Linked DNA regions of Homo sapiens: region 1 is linked to region 2. Evidence: promoter capture Hi-C in human tissues and cell types (Jung and others, 2019). All regions are on one chromosome and are shown on one strand. Each heading gives the region's core, a stretch centred on a gene start or on the middle of the fragment in contact. The rest is flanking DNA. Distances are from core to core; before and after follow the strand shown.

Region 1 (4,954 bases), core at 82-2,581, 1.0 Mb before region 2:
ACTGAGGACTTGTTTTCTGTTCATTTTGACTTCTATCACAAAAGCTCCCTGAAGACAAAATAGTTCCAGATTCCCAATGACTCCCAGTTCATAAAATTGATCTTTTTTTCTGAGTTTACGTTATTAATGATGTTGAATAACCTGATCTTATGCATCTGTTAAAAACTTTACAGAACACAAAAATTCAAAACTCCTGTCCCTACAGTCTTGGAGCAAATTGATTTTCCAGGAAGACACACCAGATTTACCATGTGGATTTGCTTACATCAGAATCCCCTGGAAGTAGAAATACCCAAGGTTTTAAAGGACACAGTGAGGAAGAGATTTTGCTTTGAACAATAGGAACAACATGAATCTAGGGACCAGACTTTGCAGTAGTTCTTCACTTTCCCTCTTCCCACAATAAGAATGAAAACATTTCTACTTCAAGAAACTGAAATAAAAATGCCAACACTAGTTATTCTTTTCCTTTGCCCCCTTTCTCTCCCCTCTTGTTACATGACAAGTGATTTCCACTTTAGTCCCAAAAGCAAAAAGAAAATGAAATAAACCTGTGTGGAAGACTGGAATAAAGCATTCTTTTCTCACCATGATGACTCTTCTGCCAAAAGTAGAGTCATACTCCACTCATGGGGCTATGAAAATGGTACAACCCTTCAACAGAGCAACTCAGCAAGAACATACCAAGACCCTTTAGAATCCTCGTACATTTCAGCCCAACAATCCACGCATGGAAATCTATCCTAAAGTAATGTAATCAGAGATGTAGACGAAGATTTTGGTACTAAGCCTTCAGCAAAGCCATTTTGCTAATGAAAAAGGAAGATAACCTGTGTGTTAACCAATGAGGGTTGTTGAAAAAAATTACAGAAGATGCATATGACAAAATACTATATGTTTATTAAAAAGATTTAAAGATTTCAAAATAACATGGAAAACATAAGGATAAGGAGAAAATAAATATATAAAACTAGATGCAATAAAATGCTCTTTAATATTATAATAGAAGTTATCTCTGGATTGTGGGATGATAGGAAACTTTTAAAATACTCTTTGTATACTTTTAATTTTTATGTTTTTTCGATACTCCAATTTTTCAATACTGAGTGTGTATCCCTTTCATAATCTGAATTAAACAAGGTTTAGGGATTTTTTGTTTCATTTTTAAGGAATAAAACAGGACATACAATGACACTACCATCCTATCTAACTTACACCCTTTATGAAAGCAACTTTACAAATATACTTCAATATGCAAATGTATGTGTTTATATCCATTTTGCCAATTCCTTTTCTAAGTAAATTATGAAACAAGGAAATATTTATTAAGACTTTTCTAGATGCCTAGAATTTAATAAGCCCTTAAAAATTCTCCACCTAGCAAAGACACAATACATTTATCAGGATTATGCTGTCATTTTGTAAAGTGAACGTTTCACAAAAAATATTCACATTTTGCTAAATAGCATTTTGTTTATTAAGTGGTTCTTCTTTTACTCTAAGAATCTAGCAACATAAAATGAGCTAATAAAATATACACATAAATGTAAATACCAACATACACATAAATCTTTGCCTTTTATAGCTAACCTTAGAGCTCTCTGCATACCAAAGATTTTTGTTTTTGTTCCATTTTGTTTGGAAGACAGATGTCTTTTAATTAACATAATATTGAAAGCAGCAGGTATCATGTCTAATGCTATGTTGTATAGCAACCAGTATCATCTTCCCATTGATTGCACATAGATACACAGAGCCTGGAGTGCCACATTCATATAGTCCATATTTCCAATAAGCAGGAAGACTGCAGCTAGGTCCTGGGAAGTAGGAGATTCCAAATGAAATAAAACCTCAGCAACTGTCAATGCTCTATTTTATGTTTTATTTTAAAACTGATTTATGTTCAGTACTCTGACAGGCTTCAGAAGGATGGTAATGAAGCCCCAATAAGCTTCTGCCAAATGCAATGCCTCAGCCAAAGAACTATTGCTTCTGAAAGTGGTTAAACTAGCTTATTCCAGTGCTTTCTCATGGGATCCAAGAGTGGGCTCTGCAGCATCTCTATCTGTGTTTGGTGGGGAATCAGGGAGGTGTTGGAGAGGATGTTACTATTCTGAAAATTTAGATAAAATTAATTAATATGTATATTATATTATTATGTACCTCCTTCTCCCATTTGACCACATGCACACAGAATGGTAATAACTCTATATAAAACCTGCAGGTAAGGCTAACTGCCACAAGGTTGGTGGTGGGGGTTAGGACCTATAGGACTTGCTCTCCTAATTGTGATAAAGAGAGACGGGAAAGCAATCAAATAATCCAAGAACATGACCCAAATCGTGGTCGTACTGGGTGGGTTTTTGCTTGTAACCCACCGGTCAGGAAGTCCTGGGCAGCTGCAATTATTACAGAATTATTCAATATTGAGTCTGTAATTAGAATTATTATGAATTTCTATAGTTCACCTTTTAAAAATATTTAGCAACTCTATCTTAAAAACATAAGTTGCAATAAAACAAAATGTTTCTTAAAAAGCCATGAGTATTTGTCACATAGAAGGAGAAAATATATATATATATATATATATATATATATTCCAGCAATCTCTTATTTTATGCTTTTTTCTGTAGTTTATTTTAAAAACTTTATTTTTTAGAGCAGTTTTAGGTTCACAGCAAAGTTGAGAGGAAGACACAGAGGTTTCTCATATACCCCCTCACTGTATTCCTTGCCCCACATATGAAGAGATTTCCCCGTTATCCACATCTCCCACCAGAGTGGTACATTGATTAAAATTGGTGAACCTATATTTAATTTTTAAATTGATGAAACTATATTTAGATTCATCATAATTACCCAAAGTCCATAGTCTACATTAAGGTTCACTCTTGGTGATGTACATTCTATGGGTTTGGACAAATGTATTATGACATGATCCGTCACTACAGTATTATACAGACTATTTCCACTGCCCTAAAAATTTTCTGTGCTTCACCCACTTATCCCTCCCCTGACCTCCCATCTCCTGGGAACCAATGATCTTTTTACTGTCTCCATTGTTTTCACTTTTCCAGAACATCAGGTTGCTGGAATCAGTAGGTAGACTTCTCAGATTGGCTTCTTTCACTTAGTAATGCTCATTTGACTATCCTCCATGTCTTTTCATGGCTTGAGAGCTCTTCTTTTTCAGTGCTGAATAATATTCCATTGTCTGGGTGTACCACAGTTTATTTTTTTCAGCTACTGAAGGACATCTTGGTTTCTTCCAAAGTTTGGCAATTATGAATAAAGCTGCTATAAACATTTGTGTGCAGGTTTTTGTGTAGACATAAGTTTTCAGCTCTTTTGGATAAATACCAAAGAGCCTGTTTGCTGGATCATATGGTAAGAGTATGCTTTGCTTATTGTCTTCCAAAGTGGCTGCACCATTTTGCATTTCCACCAGCAATGAATGATAGTTCCTGTTGCTCTTGCATCCTGTTGCTCTCCAGAATTTGGTGTTGTCACTGTTCTAGATTTTGGCTCTTCTAATAGGTGCATAGTGGTAGTGTGTTGTTGTTTTAATTTGCATTTTCCTGATGACATATGATGTGGAGCATCTTTTCATATGCTTATTCGCCATCCATATATCTTCCTTAGTGAAGTGTCTGTTAAGGTCTTTGGAACATTTTTTAATCAGGTTGTGTGTTTTTCTTATTGCTAGGTCTTAAGTGTTCCTTGTATAGCTTGGATAGCAGTCCTTTATAAAATATGTCTTGTGAATATTTTCTACCAGTGCGTAGCTTCTCTTTGTTGTCTCTCTTATTTTAAAATTTTTTTTAAAAAATCTTCTGCTGCATATATTAGTAGAAGTTTTAACTAAAAAATACAGGACCTAGGTGAAAAGTTTTATGAAATAAAAAGAACACTGGATTATGAGGACATACGCACAGGCTACGTGATTGCAAAAAAAATCATTAAACCTCCCTTATCCTCAATTTGCCTAGATGGAAATGTAACTATTAATATTTGCCTTGCCACCCAATAACTTTATTCTAAAAGTATCAAATGTGATGTGGGCAAATATACTCCAGAAATGTAAACTTTTAGAAATTATGATTTCATGAAAACTTTTTTAGAGAAATTTAAATTTGAAGGACAATTTTTGTGAAAAGTGATATGGACCAATTAAAGCATTTCATTTCTATTTTAGAAATAAGATGCTGGTTTGATGTTAGATTTTCTTCAACTGTTGTCTTTAATTGCTTTCTAAGTTTATGCATTTGAGTTTATACTAGAAAATGCCTTTTGTATGCACCTAATGTGGAACTGTAGATCACTTCAAAGTGAGTCAGCTTCAACATTCACAGAAATATAATAGTAAGGAAGCAGTGTCTAAACTAACTTTCCTGTTGTTCCTGGAAAAATAGTCATAATAGGGCAAAAGCAGTTACTTGCTGTATTATTCAGAGCATAAATTATATACTCCAAAATATAATTAGCACTTGTGTCTGTAACAGATAGCTACATTTTCTGGTTATGTATCTATCAAATTTTCATTTTAATAGTGATGACTCATAATGAAATTATGCATTCATTGTTCCATTCATTAAACCATTTCACTGGCGGGCTGTGCACGTAAACTGCAAATTCTGTGTATGTGTGATCACACCACTCTCCCCCAGTCTCCAGTTCTTAACCTAATATTTGTTAACACACACAAATTCTTTCCAGAACAAGTTCTCTGATGTACATTCAGGGAGCAGATGCTGTTGAAATGTTATCAAGTTACAGATGCACAAAATATTCTTGCTGAATGTGTTTGGTAATATAGCTCTGAAATATCACTTCAGTCCCTGCCTTCTGCCGGCCCAAACTTCACTCTCTGGGGAACCATCCAGAAAAGTAATGCTAAGAGTTACTAAATTCACTCCTCCGATCAGCTGTTTTCAAAATGGTAGAACAAGCTTTC
Region 2 (4,265 bases), core at 750-3,249:
TGTGGGCTGTGTCCTAATAAAACTTAGTTTAAGGTCACTGAAGTGTGAATTTCACATAGTTTTCACATCTCTCTCCTTCTTTCTTTTGTTTTCTTTTTTTCTTTTTTTTTTTTTTTTTCAGGGACTTGCTTTGTCACCCAGGCTGGAGTGCAGTGGGGAGATCACGACTCACTGAAGCTTTGAACTCCCAGGCTCAAGCAATCCTCTCACCCTAGCCTCCAGAGTAGCTAGGGGGCATGCACCACCATACCCAGATAATTTTAAAATTTTTTGTAGAGACGGGGGTCTCCCTGTGTTGCCCAGGCTGGTCTTGAACTCCTGGCCTCAAGCGATCCTCCTGCTTGGACCTCCCAAAGTGCTAGGATTACAGCTGTGAGCCACCATGCCCAACCTGTCACATATTATTCTTTAAAATATTTTAAATAATAATTTAAAAACAGAAATAATCATTCTTAGCTCAAGGCCAAAAAAAAAAAAAAAAAAAGGCAGTCTTCCCACCTGCTTCCCCTTTTCCCCACCTCCCCTCCCCACCCCACACACAAAAGACTGGATTTGGCCCTAGTGCCATAGTGTGCTGACACACATCTGCATTATCTCACTGGGTTAATAGGGCTTTTCTAAATGGTCAGATACACTGTGATTATATTGTCAAGTGAATGGGAAAGAGTTTTCCCGCTAGCCTTTTTTCCCACCCTACTGCCTCATCACTTTCTGCCACCCTCTGCCACTGAGACTGATGGGGTTTTAGTCAATCGTTTCTAAGGTTAAAAGTAGGCACTGCATGTCTAGACTCTAGACAAGGATCAATTACAAGGATAGGCAGCAATCTTAAGGGTTTGAGCGCTGGAGTGTCCTGATCGGGTTTGGGCGTTTTCACAGATGAAGCTCCCTTGATCAAGAGTGGCAAAGGGACACAGCAACAAGTTGTTGCAGTAATCTGGGGATAAAGGAAGGTGATCTGGACTAGGCTGGTAGAAATAGGGGACTAAGGCTGTTTTTGGGATGCCTATTTAGGATTGGGTGCTTGCTTGAATGAAGATTGATTAGCTGTTTTAAATACCTCTCACAGGATAAAAGAAATTGATTTTTTTTTTTTTTGAGACAGAGTCTTGCTCTGTCGCCCAGGCTGGAGTGCAGTGGCGCAATCTCGGCTCACTGCAACCTCTGCCTCCCGGGTTCAAGCGACTCTCCTGCCTCAGCCTCCTGCGTAGCTGGGACTACAGGCCCGGCTACTTTTCTCATTTTTAGTAGACACAGGGTTTCACTGTGTTGCCTAGGCTGGTCTCGAACTCCTGACCTTGTGATCTGCCCGCCTCGGCCTACCAAAGTGCTCGGATTACACGCATGAGCCACCACGCCCGGCCTGAAATTTTTTTTTTTTTTTAAAGAAATGAGTAAGTTTTTTAATAGTTTTTAAAGCGCTACCTAGGTTTAGCTGGGATACCGCATAATTTCATTCTTCTTTTACTTATTAATAACCATTTTAAAAACTGCAAGATCCTATCAATTTGTCTGATTTACTGATTCCCCTATCCCAAAGTGGAGCGCAAAATTTTTACTTTTTCAACATAAAAGTTAGTTTAAAATACTTTTTCTGAAGAAAAAAAGAAAGAAATCCGCATTCCCCACAGTCACTGGACAGGAATCTCGGCGTGGAGACACCCGTTCAATTTCCAGGGGTCTACCTTCCCCTACCCGGGTTCCCGCCGCTCCTCAGCGCCCAGACGCACCTCCTAGTCCCGCCCCCATGCTTCTTCCAGCCTTCCTCCTTCTTCTCCCACTGCCTCCGCCCATTCCCTCGCCCACCCGGGAAGCTCCGCCCCCTCCAGCTCCGCAACCCAACTCCTTCTGTCCTGCTGTCGCTTTCCTCTTTCCCGCCCCCATGGCTGCCTTCGATTGGCTAAACCTGCTGGGCCGCGGCGGGGATGCGGCGCAGCCGCATTCTGATTGGCTAGACTTAGGCCTGGACCCTAGTGATTGGCTGATAGGAGGAGCCAGCAAGTGTGGCTGAGCTCCGGGGTGTGTGGACGCCGCTTTGTTGCCTGAGGTGGGTGGCGGTGGAAGTTAAGGGAGTCAGGGGCTATCGCTCCTCGAGACTCGCAGTCGCGGCCACTGCAGTCACTTCGCCAGTTAGCCCTTAGGGTAGGAGTCGCGCCGGCAGCAGCCATGAGCGGCGGCGTGTACGGGGGAGGTGAGTGAGTGCGGCCGGACGAGAGAGCGCGCCTTTTCGGCGTGTGGGGTTTGTAACCGCCGCTCCCAGCCCTCCCCTCCCCGGCGTTCCCTTCCGGTCTCCCCCTCTCGGGACCCCGGCCTCCCCGCCCCGTCCCCGCCCCACGCTCTGCCCGCCCCCGGAGCCCACCCGGCTCGCCGTGCTCCTCGGGCTCCCTGAAGTGGCGGCTCTCTGTGGCCTCTTCCTGCCTCTGTCCCCGGAGGAGCAGGGTTTTGGGGTGCGCGCTCGGTTCTCTAGGGAGCCTCGGGGCTGGGCGGGAGGCTCAGTCTAGCCGGCCGCCGGGCCCCGGCTTGGGTGACCGCCCCAGGGTCGCATCTCCCCGAGTGCCTCCTGGACTCAGCTGTGTCGGGACGCGTGTGCGCCCGCCTAAACTTGGAAGGTCCCGGCGGTTTGCAAGCGTGGACGGAGGGTTCCCAGAGTGTCCCATAGGTGGCAAAGCGAGCCTCAAGCCGTAGAACTGACTAGGGAAGCGGCGGCCACTTAGGGTACTGCCTCCTCCCCGTCTGCGCCCCATGCGCGAGCTGCCTCACCTTTCAGTAACTCTTGCCTGTTTTTTGGCTGCGGAGTCTCCAGAGTGACTCGTGGGCGGGTCTGTTTGAGATCAATTCAGGAGCACGTGTAATTTAAGGATGCCCAGAAAGTTTGCTGGGGGTCCTAGGCGTGTTATTTTTTCACTTTCTTTGATTAGACTGTGGTGTGGTAGGAAGATTACCAGGTGCCGGGGGTTACAGACCTGGGTTGAAATATCCACCTCACTCTTTATTAAGCGCTTTGGTCTTGGGCAGTTTATGTAACTTTCCAACTTCAGGCCTCATTTATGGAATAATTCCTAGCCGATGGGGGTGGGCATGAAGGTTAAATGAAATAATGCTGCATTTGCCACTTAAAGTCTGGCCCATGGACCAGCAGTGTCAGCATCACCTGCAAGCCTGTTAGAAATGCAGGATCTCACGCGTCATTCAGAATCTACTGATTTAGAGCCTCCATTTTTGCAAGATCTGCAGGTTAATCGAAACACTGATACATATAATTCATGTGTTGGGTTGTGTTTGATGAGTTAGAGACCCAGAAAACAAATCCAGACTATTGCTGTTGTTACTGTGTCTAGTAGTGATGCTGTTTCTATAAAGGATGTCATTTTACAGGTAGGAAACAACAAAAATAAGATTTTTCCTTCATGTTCCCCAAGAAAATCACATCACCCCTAAACTTGGAAGGAGAAAAACATTAAAATCCTCAAAAAAGACAAAAGCCTTTTTAGTAGAGTAGAGGTTCAATTCTTGAGGATTTTTATAGACTAGAAATTGCATCCTAGGTTTTAAACATCCAGAACTCTGTGGTTCTATTAAGCCTCCTGCCTCCCATGGCCACTCTCCTACTTTGGGTTCATGGGGCTTGATTTTTAATGAAGCAGGGTACAGGAATTAGATGTATCTCCCATCCTGGAAAAGGAACAGATGTAAAATTCTGAGAATTTAGAGTCTTAAATTAAAATTCCACCATATCCAGTTTACTAAACTAATTAGGACAGGAAAATGAGCTGATATGTTGGATTTTTTCTATTTCACAAAAATGTTTTTTGAGTACTTGCTATGTGGCAGGTATAGGCTCTTGTCATCAAGAAGCTCAGTCTTGTAGATGAGTCTGTTAGGTAAATAGACACCGTATTTCACTGATTCTTCGTTGTACATTTTTTCCCACATTTAAACAGCTGAAGTTGGAATATGTCTTTTTTTTTTTTTTTTTTAATAGAGATGGGTCTTGAACTCCTGAGCTCAGGCGGTCTTCCCACCTCAGCCTCCCAAAGTGCTAGGATTACAGGTTTGAGCCACTGCCCCCAGTCAGAATATGTCTTAACAGTGCTGGCGTGGCAGAGTTTAATTGCCATATTATTTTGTTAGTGATGCAGGAAATAGTGGTGCATCATGTAGTTGATAGCATCTTATATTGATCAGAAATGGTAACTGTAATTCAATGAGAGATGTTCATTGATAACAATATGTAGAAGGGGCCGGGTGCGGTGTAATCCCAACAC

What was found. The method cuts DNA at HindIII sites, captures the fragments that hold promoters and counts their contacts. A contact is called where the count stands out against the background at its distance.
Region 1: a fragment that was not itself captured here is called in contact with the fragment with the promoter of ACTL6A in region 2 in 1 of the 25 tissues and cell types used here (lymphoblastoid cells).

The regions. Positions count from the first base shown.
Region 1 is chr3:178,528,043-178,532,996 of GRCh38, forward strand. The region is part of intron 5 of KCNMB2-AS1 (KCNMB2 antisense RNA 1); the gene reads right to left. Among named protein-coding and RNA genes, the nearest start is that of KCNMB2, 5.9 kb to the right of the region's middle. The HindIII fragment of the contact is 4,238 bases long and covers 1-3,450 here.
Region 2 is chr3:179,560,927-179,565,191 of GRCh38, forward strand. It overlaps ACTL6A (actin like 6A), which reads left to right and starts at 2,000. Exons shown (of 14, transcript NM_004301.5): 1 at 2,000-2,191. The coding sequence starts at 2,167. RefSeq lists a silencer at 1,862-2,091. The HindIII fragment of the contact is 12,889 bases long and covers 1-4,265 here.